Regions from separate parts of the Homo sapiens genome. Here regions 2, 3, 4 and 5 are each linked to region 1. Evidence: promoter capture Hi-C in human tissues and cell types (Jung and others, 2019). All regions are on one chromosome and are shown on one strand. Each heading gives the region's core, a stretch centred on a gene start or on the middle of the fragment in contact. The rest is flanking DNA. Distances are from core to core; before and after follow the strand shown.

Region 1 (2,883 bases), core at 291-2,790:
CTTTCAACTGTAGAGAGCACTGTGGAAATATAGATGTGGTAGAACAATCTATATCACCCTGCAGTTGTTTCTGTGTTTCTATGACTAGCTTTGTTTGAGATTGTATAAAGCGGTCTTCACACCCCGGTGAATAAGATTGGTGGATGCAGTTCCCTGCCCTGCCGCAGAAGGGACCTCCAAACACAGTTTAAATCTGACTCTCCGGGAGTTGTGTTTTGACACTTTCACAACAGTGTGAACTTGTGCCACAAGCAAGACAGATCTTATTGGATTAACACTGAACTCGTGACAGCTCCAGAGAGTAATGCTATCTGTGCGGCTTAAGAACAAACGTGTTTCTTTCATCCACCCTGCTCATTCTCTTCCTGCAGTTACTCCTAGCAAATCCTCCCCGCCCTCACCTCTAGGAATTCCTCTACACCCAGAGAAAGGAGTTTCTTTCCTCACTGCGGAAACCTATCACCGCTTCCTTTCCACAGATGGACTCCAAGGGGCACTCACTCGTGTGCCCACTAAGGGATTTCTCTCCTAATTCCACGCCTTCCAAGGGAAGTCAGAACTGCTCAGTTTCCCCCGGTGACCACATACACGTGTCCAAGTGAAGCCTCGTCTGGGGGAGACTCAGTTCCCACACTTCCCCCTGGCCCCTGTGGAGGCCCTCTGTCTCCCCTGCGTGGCCCTCCGCCTGGCCCCTCGCACTCACCAGGAGGAGGTTGTGCGCCACCAGGTACCCGAGCCGCGGGCTGCCCCGGATGCCGGGGGCCAGGCGCCCGGTGGCGTAGCCGTGCCAGGCCACCACGTAGGGGTTGTCGATGGTGATCCAGTACTTGACCTGACCGCCGAAGTGGCGGAAGCAGAGCTCCGCGTAATCCCTGAAGTGGTCGGCCAGGGCGCGGTTGGCCCAGCCGCCGTAGGCGTCCTGCAGGCGCTGGGGCAGGTCCCAGTGGTACAGGGTGACCACGGGCTGCACGCCCAGCTCCCGCAGCCGCTCCAGCAGGCGCCGGTAGTAGCGCAGCCCCTCGCGGTTGGGGACGCCCGCGCTGCCATTGGGGAGCACTCGCGCCCACGAGATGGAGAAGCGGTAGTGAGTGACCCCGAGCTCGCGCAGCGCCTCCGTGTCGCGGAAGACGTTGTTGTAGCTGTCGCTGGCTACGTCCCCGGTGGCGGGCTGCAGCGGCGACGGGGCGCCCAACGGCAGACTGGCGTTCCGGGAGTCTCCCGGGGGTGCCAGGGGGTGGTGGGTGAACGTATCCCAGATGGACGCACCCTTGCCGTGCTGCTGCCAGCCGCCCTCGGTCTGGTAGGCGGCGCTGCCCACGGCCCAGAGGAAGCCGTCGGGGAAGGTGCCCTGGAAGAGGCCCGCGGCCTCGGGGGCAGGAGGCCGCGAGAAACGGGCCCAGGTCTGCGCGCCGTCGCCCGGCTCCGCACGCAGGCGGCGGCCGCCCAGGCCCAGCAGCACCAGCAGCAGCGACAGCGACGGCGGCGGCGGCCGCGGGCGGCGCGGCGGGGCGCTGGCGGGCATGCTGCGCGGGAGCCAGGCTCCGGGGCCCCGCGCCGCGCCCCTTTATGCCCGCGCCCCGCCGCGCCCGCCCGCCCACCGCCGGCGCGCCCACCCCCGCTCCCCGGCGGGCTCCGCTGGCAATAATTACCTGCGAGCCGGGACTGCCTCCGCCCTGGCACTGGGGGCGGGGGCAGGGGCGCCGAGGGCGAGGGGTGCCCGGGAGGGGCGCGGCAGCGGGCAAGGTGCGGCAGGCGTCGCCCGCGGACGTCGGAGAAAGGCACCTGTTTCTCCCAGCTCCCGGGAGCCGTGCAGGACGTTTCGTGGACGCTCAGGTTCATTCTCTTTGCCTGCCGCGCGTCCTCTGAGAGCAGCCCTGGAGCGGCTTCGTCGGGGAGAAAAGGCGCCGACCAACTTTCCCCGACTTGGGGGCGGGATCCTGCCGGGCCCTAGCGGAGCGCGCCGCTGGGGAAGCACCTGCTCTCACTTTTCTCCCACTCGGAGGCCCAAAGAAGCTCCGGCTGGACATTGCTGGAGCCAATTAGGGACTGGCCGAAATCCTAGAGGGACTGCCAGGTGGGACAGCCGAGGGGGAACTTCGCCGTGCGCTGAAAGGGATTCCCCCTTAGGTGAGATGCTCGCGGGGAGACGCGCCCACCCGCGCCCCTCTTTCGAGGAAGACAAAGTAGATTTATGGGTTGCGTTGGGACTGGGGTTTTGCTCTCCCTTTTACTGTTACCTTTTAATAATTTCAAACCAGCACTCTATCTTTGATTAGATCTCTCAGAATACCCTGGTGAACTTCAAATCACAGTCGTTGATTGTTCTCCTGAAAAACCAAACACCAAGTTTCCAATTTTGAGTAAATCTCATTCACCTTTATTATCCTTTGGCATCTGTGTTACCTTTCGGCTCTGACTTAGCAGGTAATCTGTGCAAAGTTGTGCGCACAGGTCTGCTGGAGCGGGAGGTCCCTGGGTCGCACATTTGCCATCTGAGCTGTGGAGGGAAAGGGGAGGGAGAATTTAGCCGGAACACCCATTCCCATCCTCTACAATACAATGGAGCCATGACGTTTTTCCTGTTGCCAAAGAGCCCTTTTGACAGAAGTTGCAGAGCCACAGTGTCCATTTGGATGTGGGTAGATAGGATTGTGGCTAACCGAAATACAGTTGGTGGAGACTGAGAAGGTCTAGGCTCCACCTTTGTGATTTGGGGCAGGAAACCTCTGTAAGCCTAAGTTTCCTCCTCTATAAAATAAGGATGTCCTGTCTGCCCTGCCGCCTCAGAGGCTTGTGAAGTCCAGTGAAAAACTGCGCAAAGGTGACTCAAAGACAGAAAGCCCAGACAAGTGAAGGATCTTGCTAATATCCCTACCTCCCTAC
Region 2 (2,780 bases), core at 209-2,708, 190 kb after region 1:
TGGAAGGCTGATGGTACTCATCTCCAAACTCATCAGATTGTATACATTAAATATGTACAGGTTTTTATATCTCAATCATAACTCAAAAAGTGGTTTTTTTTAAAAAAAAAAAAAAGAAAGGTTTTGCATAAAATTGACACAGATATTCCATCTGAATTGGAGTTGAGTTTTGCCCAACATTCCTTACCACATTGTCCATGAAAAATCAACTGTTTGAGAATATAAATGTAATATTTGCTTCCAAATACCAAGAAAGATAAGGATAAGAATTTATTAAGAAAGATAAATAATTTGATCATTAGTTTTTTAAAGGCCTCTAAATGCCATGAGGAAGCACAAGCAAATCCCTGTAAGATTTTAGGGCAGGAAGGGATGATTTCAGGATGAGATCATCAGGGGAGACTCCAGGTGGTGATGAGCCTTTGAGCTGGGCCCTGAAGAAGAGGACGGATTTCCATAGGCAGAGACGAAGCTGTAATAGAAAGCGTCAGAGGCAGAGAAAAACCAGAGCAAAGATCGCCCGGGAAGAAAGTGCATTCCAGGGACACAAGTCATCACAAAACATCCTTCGGGACAGAGTTTGTATGAAGCAGTAGCATATGACAAGGCTCGAAAGGGAGACAGTTTTGCAAAGCCCATAGAGTTGTCATATTTCATCAAACCTAGGGCACCATAGATTATAAAGCATACCATTATGTTATGTCCCAAGGCTGCCAATTAAACTATGACAAGCATTGACTGTAAGAGGCATCCCCACTTCGAATTGCTCAAATGTACCCAAACGTGTCTTAGAATTGACAAAATTCAGGAAGTGAAGAGACTGGAGCAGTGAAGTGGGGACAAGAAGGCATAAAAGATATTTTAATAAAGCAAGCTTGGTTGGCTTAGGATAAGGAGAATTTGCTCTTATACCACAGCCATGAGCAAGGCAAACGTCTGTGGGAAATGGGACCCTAAAATTTCAGCATCCCACTCACAGTCTGTTAGCACCATGGAGAATGGCACCACTGCCCTGGGGCTGTGCAGCTTGACCCTGCCTTCTCCATCCTGCCCCAACTGTAGCAAACGTTTCACAAGCGCCTCTGCCGGGGAAGGAGAGGGCGAAAGCTCAGAAGCACAGTCTGCTGTCTTCTCCCCGGGGCGACAGTCCACGTCTCGAGAGCGCGCCGGCTCCCAGGGCTCTGCTCCCCTGTCTCACTGTGCACGGCATATGAAAACTGAAGAGGACAACGGGCTGTTTCTCAATCATGCATTTCCTAAGAGAACCAAAGGGAATTTCTTCTATTTTCGTTCTTATAATTTAAAAAAAGGACCTTAGAGTTCTGGCTTTGTAGCCCAGAGAAACCTATGGATTTAATCATCAAGAATTATCAGTAGACAGAAAGGGGTAGTTGTGGACCTTAAGGTTTGACCAGAAAACACCCCGTCTGAGCCCCCACTACCCCACTCACCCCCCAACACACACATATACACTCATACACACACATACACACACACATATACACGTGCACACACATAGACACACACACGCACACACACATATACACACACACATATACACGCACACACTTACCCACTCACACACATACAGGCACATGCATACACACACAAGTACACACATACACATATTACATGCATATGCACATATAAACACATACGTATCACATATATACACAAATACATACACATATACACATGCATGTTACATATACACACACATATACATACACACACAGTGAGACACTTGCAGGTGAAAAGCAGGTATTCTTTTTGGTTCTGAGATGTTAGGTGTCAGGAGATTTTCAGTAATAATCTGGAAATGGGTGATTTTCAATTTACTTTATGCAAGTTTTCTCCTGGCTATGCATTTGTCTACAGTGACATTAGAAGCAGCAAACCAAGGACTTACATGCATATTTCATTAGTAGATAATTACATTCCTTATAATTGGTTTCTAAATCAGACCATTTCACACAATTATGGTGTTTCCTTTGCCTATTCAGTCAATCAAAAAGATAGTAAGAAAGTTCTTTGTTATCAAAATGGCATACTCTTAACCTCTATTATGGACTGCAGGAGATAAACAAAAATAAAAATACAACAATTTTGCATACATAGAATACTCCTTGTTAAAATGCATCCTAGATACAAAAGAACGAAGGAGAACACTACAAAGATGTTTCTAAATATATCCAGAGTAACAAAATGCCAAGAGGGGAATTTGATAGTAGGGGCAGATTTTTTAAAAAAATCAATAATGAAGTCATGCTGTTTAAATGCCAAAATCATTTTTCACCCAAATGAAAAAAGAAAATTGGGCCATAATGACAGCCGCAAAATAGCTCCTAACAAAGGAGCTACAGGAGCCTGTACTTGGAAAAATCTAAGTGTATTTATTCCTGCATTGATTCCACAAACATTTCCTGAGCACTGTGCTAGGTGCCGAGGACAAAGCAGTGAGTAAAACAGTCTCAGCACCACTGGAGCTTCCTGCTCACCCCAAGCTCACACACAGGCACACACTCACACACTCATACATTCATACACACACACACACGACTTCATGAGCCAGCACACTGGTGGCGTGTGGAGAAGTTCTCAGCAAGGTGGTGTAAGGCAGCAGTGAAAAAGCATAATTTGTGTAAATCCCACCTTTACTAAGTAACCTTGGGTGACTAGCTAACTCTTTGTGCCTCAGTTTTATCGTCCGTAAAATGGAGATAATTCAAATACACCTACTCACACAGTGTTGCAAGGATTCCACAAATTAATACACGTAA
Region 3 (2,700 bases), core at 149-2,648, 150 kb before region 1:
TACATCATGGAGAATAGGGTATTCATCCCCTCGGGCATTTATTCTTTGTGTTACAAACAATCCAATTATACTCTTTTAGTTATTTAAAAATGTACAAATAAGTTGTTATTGACTGTAGTTACCCTGTTGTGCTATCAAATAGTAGGTCTTATTCATTCTTTCTAATTTTTTTTTGTACCCATTAATGATCCCCACCTCTCCTCCAGCCCCCACTACCCTCCTCAGCCTCTGGTAACCATCCTTCTAATCTCTATGTCCATGAGTTCAATTATTTTGATTTTTAGATCCCACAAATTAGTGAAAACACGTGATGTTCCAAAGGGAGTTTTCTAGAAGGATTCCTGGCTGCCCACTTCTTCTCCACCATGTTATCCTTTTCATCTTCAGGATCTGAGCTCACCACATTCCCTGGGCTGGAGGGGTGCGAACTCTTTCATAGGTCACTTCCCACTCTCTGTCTTTGAGCTTTCTAGGCTGCAGAGCCCCTGTCTTGTGGGTCTTCCCCATTTGTTCTTCATGGCCTGGCTCTCTGGGACTGTCTTGCTGAACACTACATTTTCATTGTAGTAAAGGTAATAATAAAACAGAAAAAGGCATAGGATTCATGTAATGCCAAGAGAAAATATAATATTCTGTGCTTCTCTCCAAGACTTGCTGACTCATAATTAGGTTTAGAGCATGTCTAGAAATTAGGTGTTTTCTCGTTACTATCCGCTGTATTATATGGGAGCGGGAAGCAAATCTGAGCTTGAAAATCTATTAGGCAGCACTTTATCCATGACTCAGGAGCAACTCACCACATTTTCCACACGTTACAGATGGAATGTATGTTTTCCTATTTCCTCTGAAATACTTGTGTGGTTATCAAAGTAGGAACCTTCAAATACAGACTCTCAACTGGGTACTAAATAGAACTTTTGAGCAATGCAATAATTGCCTTTTGTACCTTCCCAGAGGAAAGCCCAAGTTAGCCCAGGCAGCACAATTCAGCTAAGCTGTGTTTTGAACAGCAGTTGTGGAACTCAGAGACTCCTTTTCTGATAGAAATGCTTTCAATAGCTTTTCTTTCCAGCTTGGTTCCCTGGATGTTTCTGAACCATGTGTCCATGGCAGGAATGGGTACATGGTAGGAACATGCTGGTCACACTTAAGTGGAAAACCCTCACACAAGAGACAAATCTCAAGCTTTTGAAATCATCAGTCCCTGGAGTAACAGTAGATTAGGGGATGACAGAAGAGGCAGGCGTTCCGGGGCAGGAGCCACCACAGGCTCTGTTTCCTTGGATTTAATGACAAAGTTCAATCTAGATTTAACCAGATCTGTGGAACTAGGCGGTAGGGTTTTGCTCTTCCTGGTGATGCCTGAGTAAGATCTGGCCTTTGGTCTATTTTCCTAACATATACCAAATAGCTCTGGCACATCAAACATCTTACTGCACAGACACTGAGCTTTCAATGTTGAGGTACAATCGCAGGCCCAGGGTGATGTTAGTGTAGATCATTTCTGTGCAGTGATCCCAAGAACGCCCTGTACACTCCAGCTTTGGCTATGGGGAAAAATTAGCATCATAGTAAATGGAAATACAATGACCTGACAGGGACCCATCCTAACAGCGGAGGAAAGGGCCTTGGTAAAGACTTGTGATAATAGGCTGTTTAATTTTGTTTGGAGAGACTGGACTTTCAACAGATGAACTTCTTTCCCCTTGGATTCATATTTGTCTAACAGAGTTGTGGTTGGGAAATGATCCAGGATTCACAAGGTCAAAAAGTGACCTGGTTCACATACTGTAGACTCCTCCTATCTCACTCCACAGCTTCCCCAGGCAGGTGGTCCGGTGGGCTGTTGGTGCATCCACACCAAAAATGGTCACCCAAGGGACATATCAACCTCTTGGGCTTGGCCCTCAGAGGTTCTGGCAGGCTCATCAAACTCAAGTCTCAATTCCAAATAATCAACTTTCCTCTTCTATGCCGCACTCTACAGCTTGAAATCATTCCAATGTGCTTGATTAATGAACATTTTGTTATAATGCATGGGGAATTAAGGCTATTAGTGAAATTTTTAAAACAATAATACACTGGATTTTAGCTTTTTTTCATGAGAAAATACATTTTCATAGGCAATCTAGTTGTAGTCTTTCTTAAAGTTATCCCAAGAGTGAAAGAATGAAGGAATGTTGAATAAACATTTTTAGCCTAATCTTTGGAACTTAAAAAAAAAATTCCATTAAAAAAAAAAAGAATTGTAAAGAAGAATGCCCTCTTTTCCCCTAGTGCCCTGGTTCCCTGGTGTATAAATAAGACATTTTTCCCTGCCTGAAATTCAGCCTTTGTCTTCTATGATCTGTGGTTTTGTTATTATCCACATACTTATGGATCTACATTGAAGATTATCTTAGCAGACACATAACAAGGACCTTTGTATTACCCGCTCGTTTTCCACCCACTCCCGGGTAAGCCTACTTATGCAGACTTACCTGGAACAATTTTGCTTTGTAATAACTTGCACAAAGCTCACCAGTGTCTCCATGATTAAGAAGGCAGAGTACTAGGGTGCGGCTGTGGGACTCACAATTTTATCTCTCTTGTGTTTTTCAGAAATTGAGGCAAAAGAAGCATGTGACTGGCTCCGTGCTGCCGGGTTCCCGCAATACGCTCAGTTATATGAGGGTACGTCAGCCCTTCGCTTCGCTCTTA
Region 4 (2,769 bases), core at 226-2,725, 240 kb after region 1:
CTGACACCAAATATTTTATCCTGAAGAATATGTCCCACCCAGCTTCCTTCATATCAGTAAATGACACCACTCACTCAGTTTCTCTGGCTCAAAGTTTAGGAGTCATCTTTGATTCATCTCCCTCACGCTTCCATATCCATCAGCAAAGGGCTACTAACTGTAACTTCAAAATACATCATGAATCCAAGTACTTATCACAATTTCTATCACTCTTATTGTGAAATGAACAAATTGTCTAGACTACTAATATAATTTAACTAAACTGGGGGGCTTCTATTCTTACACTCTATTAGCCATTCTCATCAATAGCCAGAGTAGTATTTTTAAAAATTAAAACAAACCTTACCACTCTCCTACTCAAAGCCTACAATGGATTCCCATCAACTTTTGAACAAAATTACCAAGAGACATCATAGGTGTGATCTGGCTCTTTCTTATCTCCTTTCTATCCTACCCCTTCCTTCAGCTTTTGCTCAATTCAACTCCAGAAACATCAGCCTTCTTGAAATCCTTGATGCACAAAGTTCATTCTTGCTTAAGGACTTTCATACTTATTCTTCCCTCTGCCTGGAATACTCTTCTCCCAGATATTCATAAGGCTTGATGCCTCACTTAATTGAAGTCCATGCTCAGATGTTACCTTCTCAAAGACGCCGCCTTTGACTACTCTGTGTCAAATAGCATTCCTGCTGGGGAGCTGGGCGGAATAGCCTGAATGAAATCTCCTGCAGGCTTGCTGTGCTAGTCTGTCATATAATGCATGTCTTACCATTAAGACATTTGAAACAACCAGATTGAGTCTAACTAAAGTTGCAACCCAGGCTCAACTCTTGAAGTCATCAATCTCTAGAATGCCTAAAAGAAAAAAGGGCAAATCTGCTCTTGGGAGAAAAATCACATCAACTTCAATCCTTTAGTACTTTTAATTCAATGTCCTCAAATAAGAAAAAAGTTACAAGATCCACACAAGGAAGGAAAAAATGTGACCAGGAAAAGTTTGATGGATGTTCAATAGAAAAAAGAGTTAAAAGAATCAGATCGACAAATGATTGAGAAGTTGTAGTTAATTGGTAAAGATTTGGACTATATAATTAAGAGAAAAGGGGAAAAGATGAGTAAAAAGAGACTTTCAACAGAGAACTGAAATCTATAAAATATTATTAACTGGACATTCTAGAACTGAAAAATACAGTCTTTCGTTTGTTTGTTTTAAAGACAGAGTCTCACTCTGTTCCCCAGGCTGGAGTGCAGTGGTGTGATGATTTCAGCTCACTGCAACCTCTGCCTCCCAGGTTCAAGCGATTCTCCCACCTCAGCCTCCAGAGTATCTGGGATTACAGGCGCCCGGCTAATTTTTTTATTTTTAGTAGAGACAGGGTTTCACCATATTGGCCAGGCTTGTCTTGAACTCCTGACCTCAAGTGGTCCGCCCATCTCAGCCTCCCAAAGTGCTGAGATGACAGGTGTGAGCCACCACACTGGCCTGAAAAATACAGTATTTGAAGTTAATAACTAATTGAAAAGTTAACGGGAAGAACAGACAGCAAAAGAAATCTGAAGATGGATCAACAGAAATATCCAAAATGAAGCACACAGAGAAAAAGTGGAAAGAACAGAAAATACACTTAAAGGCAGATGGGATACAAGCAATCTAATAGATTTATAATTGGAATGTCAGAAAGAGAAAATAGTGTAGAATATGTGAAGAGATAACAGCCAAAAATGTTTCAAAACTGATGAAAGACATCAACCAGTCAGTAAACTCCAAGCAAATTAAATAAAATGAAAATCATACCTAGGCATACCACAGTCAAAGTGCTGAAAACAAGAAATTTTAAAAAAAAAGAAGAAAAATGAACTAAGATGATAGCACATAATGATTCTTAAAAAAAGAACAGAGCAAAAATGGAAAATCTATGGGTAAATATGAGAACATGACTATTCAACAAGGATACTGTAGCATTTTTATACTGAAAATAGACAACAACTTTAGCACAAAGGCTAGAGAGGCAGATACAGCTGAATTGTTTTAAACTTTTTGCATTGTTCGGATGGTGGCAAAAGCATTAATCACAGACTATAATAAGCCAAACATAAATACTGTAATTCTAAAAGAATAACACAATCAGGTTTAACTAAAAAGCTAATGGAAGAGATAGAATAATAAAAAGCACTTTAAATGAGCCAGAAATAGGCAGGAAAGGAGAAAATAAAGGAGAGACTGGCATAAAAGAAAATAAATAGCAAAATGGTAGATTTAAAATCAACTATATAAGTAACTACACTAGAGCTTAAACACTATTAAAGAACAAAGATTCTCAGATGAAAGAACAAAATCCAAGTATAAAATGTTTACATGATACACATTTTAACCATGAGAACGTAAGTATGTTGAAAATAAAAGGAAAAGTTTTATCATGCAAACAATAGCTGAAACAAAACTGATATGGCTACATTAATATCAAGCAAAGTAGATTAAAAATATTCATAAAGATACCAAGTGACATTTTAAATTATAAACCATATCACTTCATCATGAAGATATAACAATCCTAAACTGTATGTTTCAAAGTATATAAAATAACTTCTCCACCTATCATTAGTACTTTCTATCCTGCTTTTCCTTTTTTTCACTGCATTTTTCACAATCTGACATCATATATTAATTTTTTTTTTCTTATTCACCCACCTCTAACATAATGAAAGTACCACAAAAGCAGGGACTTACACTATCTTGATCACACTTTATCCTCTGCAAAACTGAGTAAA
Region 5 (2,802 bases), core at 91-2,590, 170 kb before region 1:
AGTAATTGTTTATGTCGTAACTTATTAAAATAAACATACCTTGTAAATTGTTTACAAAATCCCAACATCTTTTTGGAAATGAGTATAATAAGGCATTGCAGTAATACTTGGTATTTTGTTTTTGTATTTTTGAAAGCTGATATTTTGGGTTTTTTTTGAATGCTGGTATTTTTAAGACTGTGTAATTTATATTCAGTACTTTAATAAACGGGTGTAGTGGCCGGGTACGGTGGCTCATGCCTGTAATCCCAGCACTTTGGGAGGCCAAGGCCGGTGGATCACAAGGTCAGGAGTTCGAGACTAGCCTGGCCAACATGGTAAAACTCCATCTCTGCTAAAATACAAAAATTAGCCAGGCGTGGTGGTATGTGCCTGTAATCCCAGCAACTCAGGAAGCTGAGGCAGAAGAATCGCTTGAACCCTGGAGGCGGAGGTTGCAGTGAGCCAAGATTGTGCCATTGCACTCCAGCCTAGGCAATAGAGTGAGACTTGGTCTCAAAAAAAAAAAAAAAAGAAAAGAAAAGAAAAGAAAACGAAATGGGTGCAGTATTCCAACAGTACATCATTTATTTTTCATCTCTCATGGTGGTGGTGTTAAGAACCACATGCTTAAAAACCCTTGGGGTTTTGTTTTCATGCCTGGCTCAGGAAATCCTTAAAATATATTTTATTATTTTTTTTGAGACAGGGTCTTTCTCTGTGACCCTGGCTGGAGTACAGTGATAGGATCATAGCTTACTGCAGCCTCTACCTCCCGGGCTCAAACAATCCTCCCACTTCAGCCTCCCAAGTAACTGAAGCCACATCCGGGCTAAATTCTTTTCATTTTTTTTTGTAGAGACAGAGTTTCATTGTGTTCTTGAACTCCTGGCCTTAAGTGACCCTTCCTCATTGGCCTTCCAAAGTGCTGGGATTACAGGCATGAGCCATCACACCCAGCCTATCCTTAAAATATTTTTAACTAAACCAGATTTAGGGTAAAATAAAGCCCAAATTGGTATTCACTAGCCATGATAGACCTTTAGCCAAATATTTAGTCATCAATTAATGTGAACTTCCTGGGTGATTATAGGGTATCTAGTATAATGAGAAAGTTGTTTTGTCCCAAAAGGGGATCAGGAAGCTAAATTTTAAAATAACATAAATCTAGAGTTAAGTTTGGGATCATCATTTTTACAATAGTATATAAAATGGCTTAGAGTGGGTTGCAGTTGAAAGTAAGATGCTGTTTCAGGTGGTACATTTCAATCAGTGACTTCTGCTGAACTCCTGCTAGAAACTGGGATCACCCGGGCAAGGATGAACACAGGGAGGACACGGGGCAGAGGACCATTTTGTACATGAGAGAGTAACTGAGTCAAGCAGAAAACTGTACTTAGATGAAATTGAGAAAGGCGTTGAAGTTTCTGATTAGCGAAATAGCTGTGAACTGGGCCCTGTCCCACAGCAAGGGCACCCATATAGAACAGGAAGGGCACACAAACAGGTTCCTTCTTTGTGGGAGGGAGGTTCATACACAGCAGCAAGATGACCAGCTAGAAGTGTCCAGAAGTACTCCTGCTAGCCTATGAAAGTGCCATCGGAAGGACTGAATTTGTTTAGGAATTTTGAAAGGACGACAAACCAGAGAGTCCCTTCCCTTTCCTCCTGCTTTCCCTCCTTCCTCCGAAAGGAGGAAGGAGGGAAAGCAGGAGGAAAGGGAAGGGACTCTCTGGTTTGTCGTTCCCTTCCTGCCCTCCTGCTTCTTTTCCTGACTTCCTTCCTGCCATTCCCACTTCCTCCTTTCCTTCTTTCTTATAACTGAAAGTTGGTTATATCTAGCCATTAAATACTAGTTTTAAAAGATACAGCCACTTTGGAGATTCTAACCAAATTATAAACATGCTTTCTATCACCTCTCAAAAAATATTAAAGTAATAAAAAAAGCTTTGTTTGTAGTTCTTCCTTATGGTTTTATATGAAGCATCGAGCTATTCATGACACTACTTTTAAGCAATTAAAAGAAACAAAATAAAACATTTCTAAATGACAAAAGAAAAGCATAAATACAAAGTGTGAGAGTCATTGACTTATACCTGACAGACACTAAATGTCTGCTCTAATAAGCAATAACAATTAGTTTAAAAAGGAAACACCAAATGTCACTTCACAGCTTAAGCCTAGAAAGCAAAGTTAGCCGGAAAATAATTACAAAAGTCTAAGGGATTTCATGGGTTTTGTTATTAAGGCAAAGTGTCTTTTCGTTTGTCATTTTCACCAACTAATCTGACAGATTCTTTATGAAGAAAGCACAGAGCCAGGAAATTGTACCCATCTGGTCAGTACCTGCTCAGAGGATCTGATATTAAAGTCTAGATCACTCCAAACTGCTTTTTCAATGCATTTCATTTTCTAGAAGTGACGAACAGTGAAACAAACCTATTCAGTCAATTGAAATAGTTATTTCGGGGAGAAAATTGAATCCTCTTCAAAAGAAGCTGTTTCACTATCTTAGTGTGGTGAGTATTGAAAGTTGGATGGTTTCCATGAAAACAAAAATGGACATAAAAGACAAAAGAGTTTGTGAGTGATATTTACAGTGAAGTTGAGTATGTGTGCATGTGGGTGGGTGGGTGTGTGTGTGTAGCAGCAGATCATAACCAGAAATTTTTCTCAGAATTAACTCTCTGTGTCCATTTTAATTTTTGTTGTATGACTCATTCAATGTTCACTATTCCCATAAATATAGGCCATACACCTACTGTTTTCCAGGCATATGTGGCCACTGGGGGTTAAAGAAGGTTGAGGTTCCTGTCCCTAAAG

What was found. The method cuts DNA at HindIII sites, captures the fragments that hold promoters and counts their contacts. A contact is called where the count stands out against the background at its distance.
Region 2: a contact is called between a fragment that was not itself captured here and the fragment with the promoter of KL in region 1, in 2 of the 25 tissues and cell types used here (IMR-90 fibroblasts and lymphoblastoid cells).
Region 3: a fragment that was not itself captured here is called in contact with the fragment with the promoter of KL in region 1 in 2 of the 25 tissues and cell types used here (lymphoblastoid cells and spleen).
Region 4: a contact is called between a fragment that was not itself captured here and the fragment with the promoter of KL in region 1, in 2 of the 25 tissues and cell types used here (IMR-90 fibroblasts and heart left ventricle).
Region 5: a fragment that was not itself captured here is called in contact with the fragment with the promoter of KL in region 1 in 1 of the 25 tissues and cell types used here (lymphoblastoid cells).

Annotation. Positions count from the first base shown.
Region 1 is chr13:33,015,080-33,017,962 of GRCh38, reverse strand. It overlaps KL (klotho), which reads right to left and starts at 1,540. Exons shown (of 5, transcript NM_004795.4): 1 at 704-1,540. The coding sequence starts at 1,522. It overlaps LOC124903151 (translation initiation factor IF-2-like), which reads left to right and starts at 1,510. Exons shown (of 2, transcript XM_047430819.1): 1 at 1,510-2,127. The coding sequence starts at 1,521. RefSeq lists enhancers at 515-574, 783-1,360, 1,361-1,936 and silencers at 645-744, 1,435-1,504. The HindIII fragment of the contact is 14,739 bases long and covers 1-2,883 here.
Region 2 is chr13:32,822,585-32,825,364 of GRCh38, reverse strand. The region is part of intron 4 of LINC00423 (long intergenic non-protein coding RNA 423); the gene reads left to right. Among named protein-coding and RNA genes, the nearest start is that of LINC00423, 88 kb to the left of the region's middle. The HindIII fragment of the contact is 7,635 bases long and covers 1-2,780 here.
Region 3 is chr13:33,167,524-33,170,223 of GRCh38, reverse strand. It overlaps STARD13 (StAR related lipid transfer domain containing 13), which reads left to right. Exons shown (of 14, transcript NM_178006.4): 2 at 2,602-2,673. Among named protein-coding and RNA genes, the nearest start is that of STARD13-AS, 110 kb to the left of the region's middle. The HindIII fragment of the contact is 7,483 bases long and covers 1-2,700 here.
Region 4 is chr13:32,778,364-32,781,132 of GRCh38, reverse strand. No RefSeq gene overlaps it. Among named protein-coding and RNA genes, the nearest start is that of LINC00423, 130 kb to the left of the region's middle. The HindIII fragment of the contact is 9,113 bases long and covers 1-2,769 here.
Region 5 is chr13:33,188,300-33,191,101 of GRCh38, reverse strand. All of the region lies in intron 1 of STARD13 (StAR related lipid transfer domain containing 13), which reads left to right. Among named protein-coding and RNA genes, the nearest start is that of STARD13-AS, 88 kb to the left of the region's middle. RefSeq lists an enhancer at 2,746-2,802. The HindIII fragment of the contact is 4,720 bases long and covers 1-2,802 here.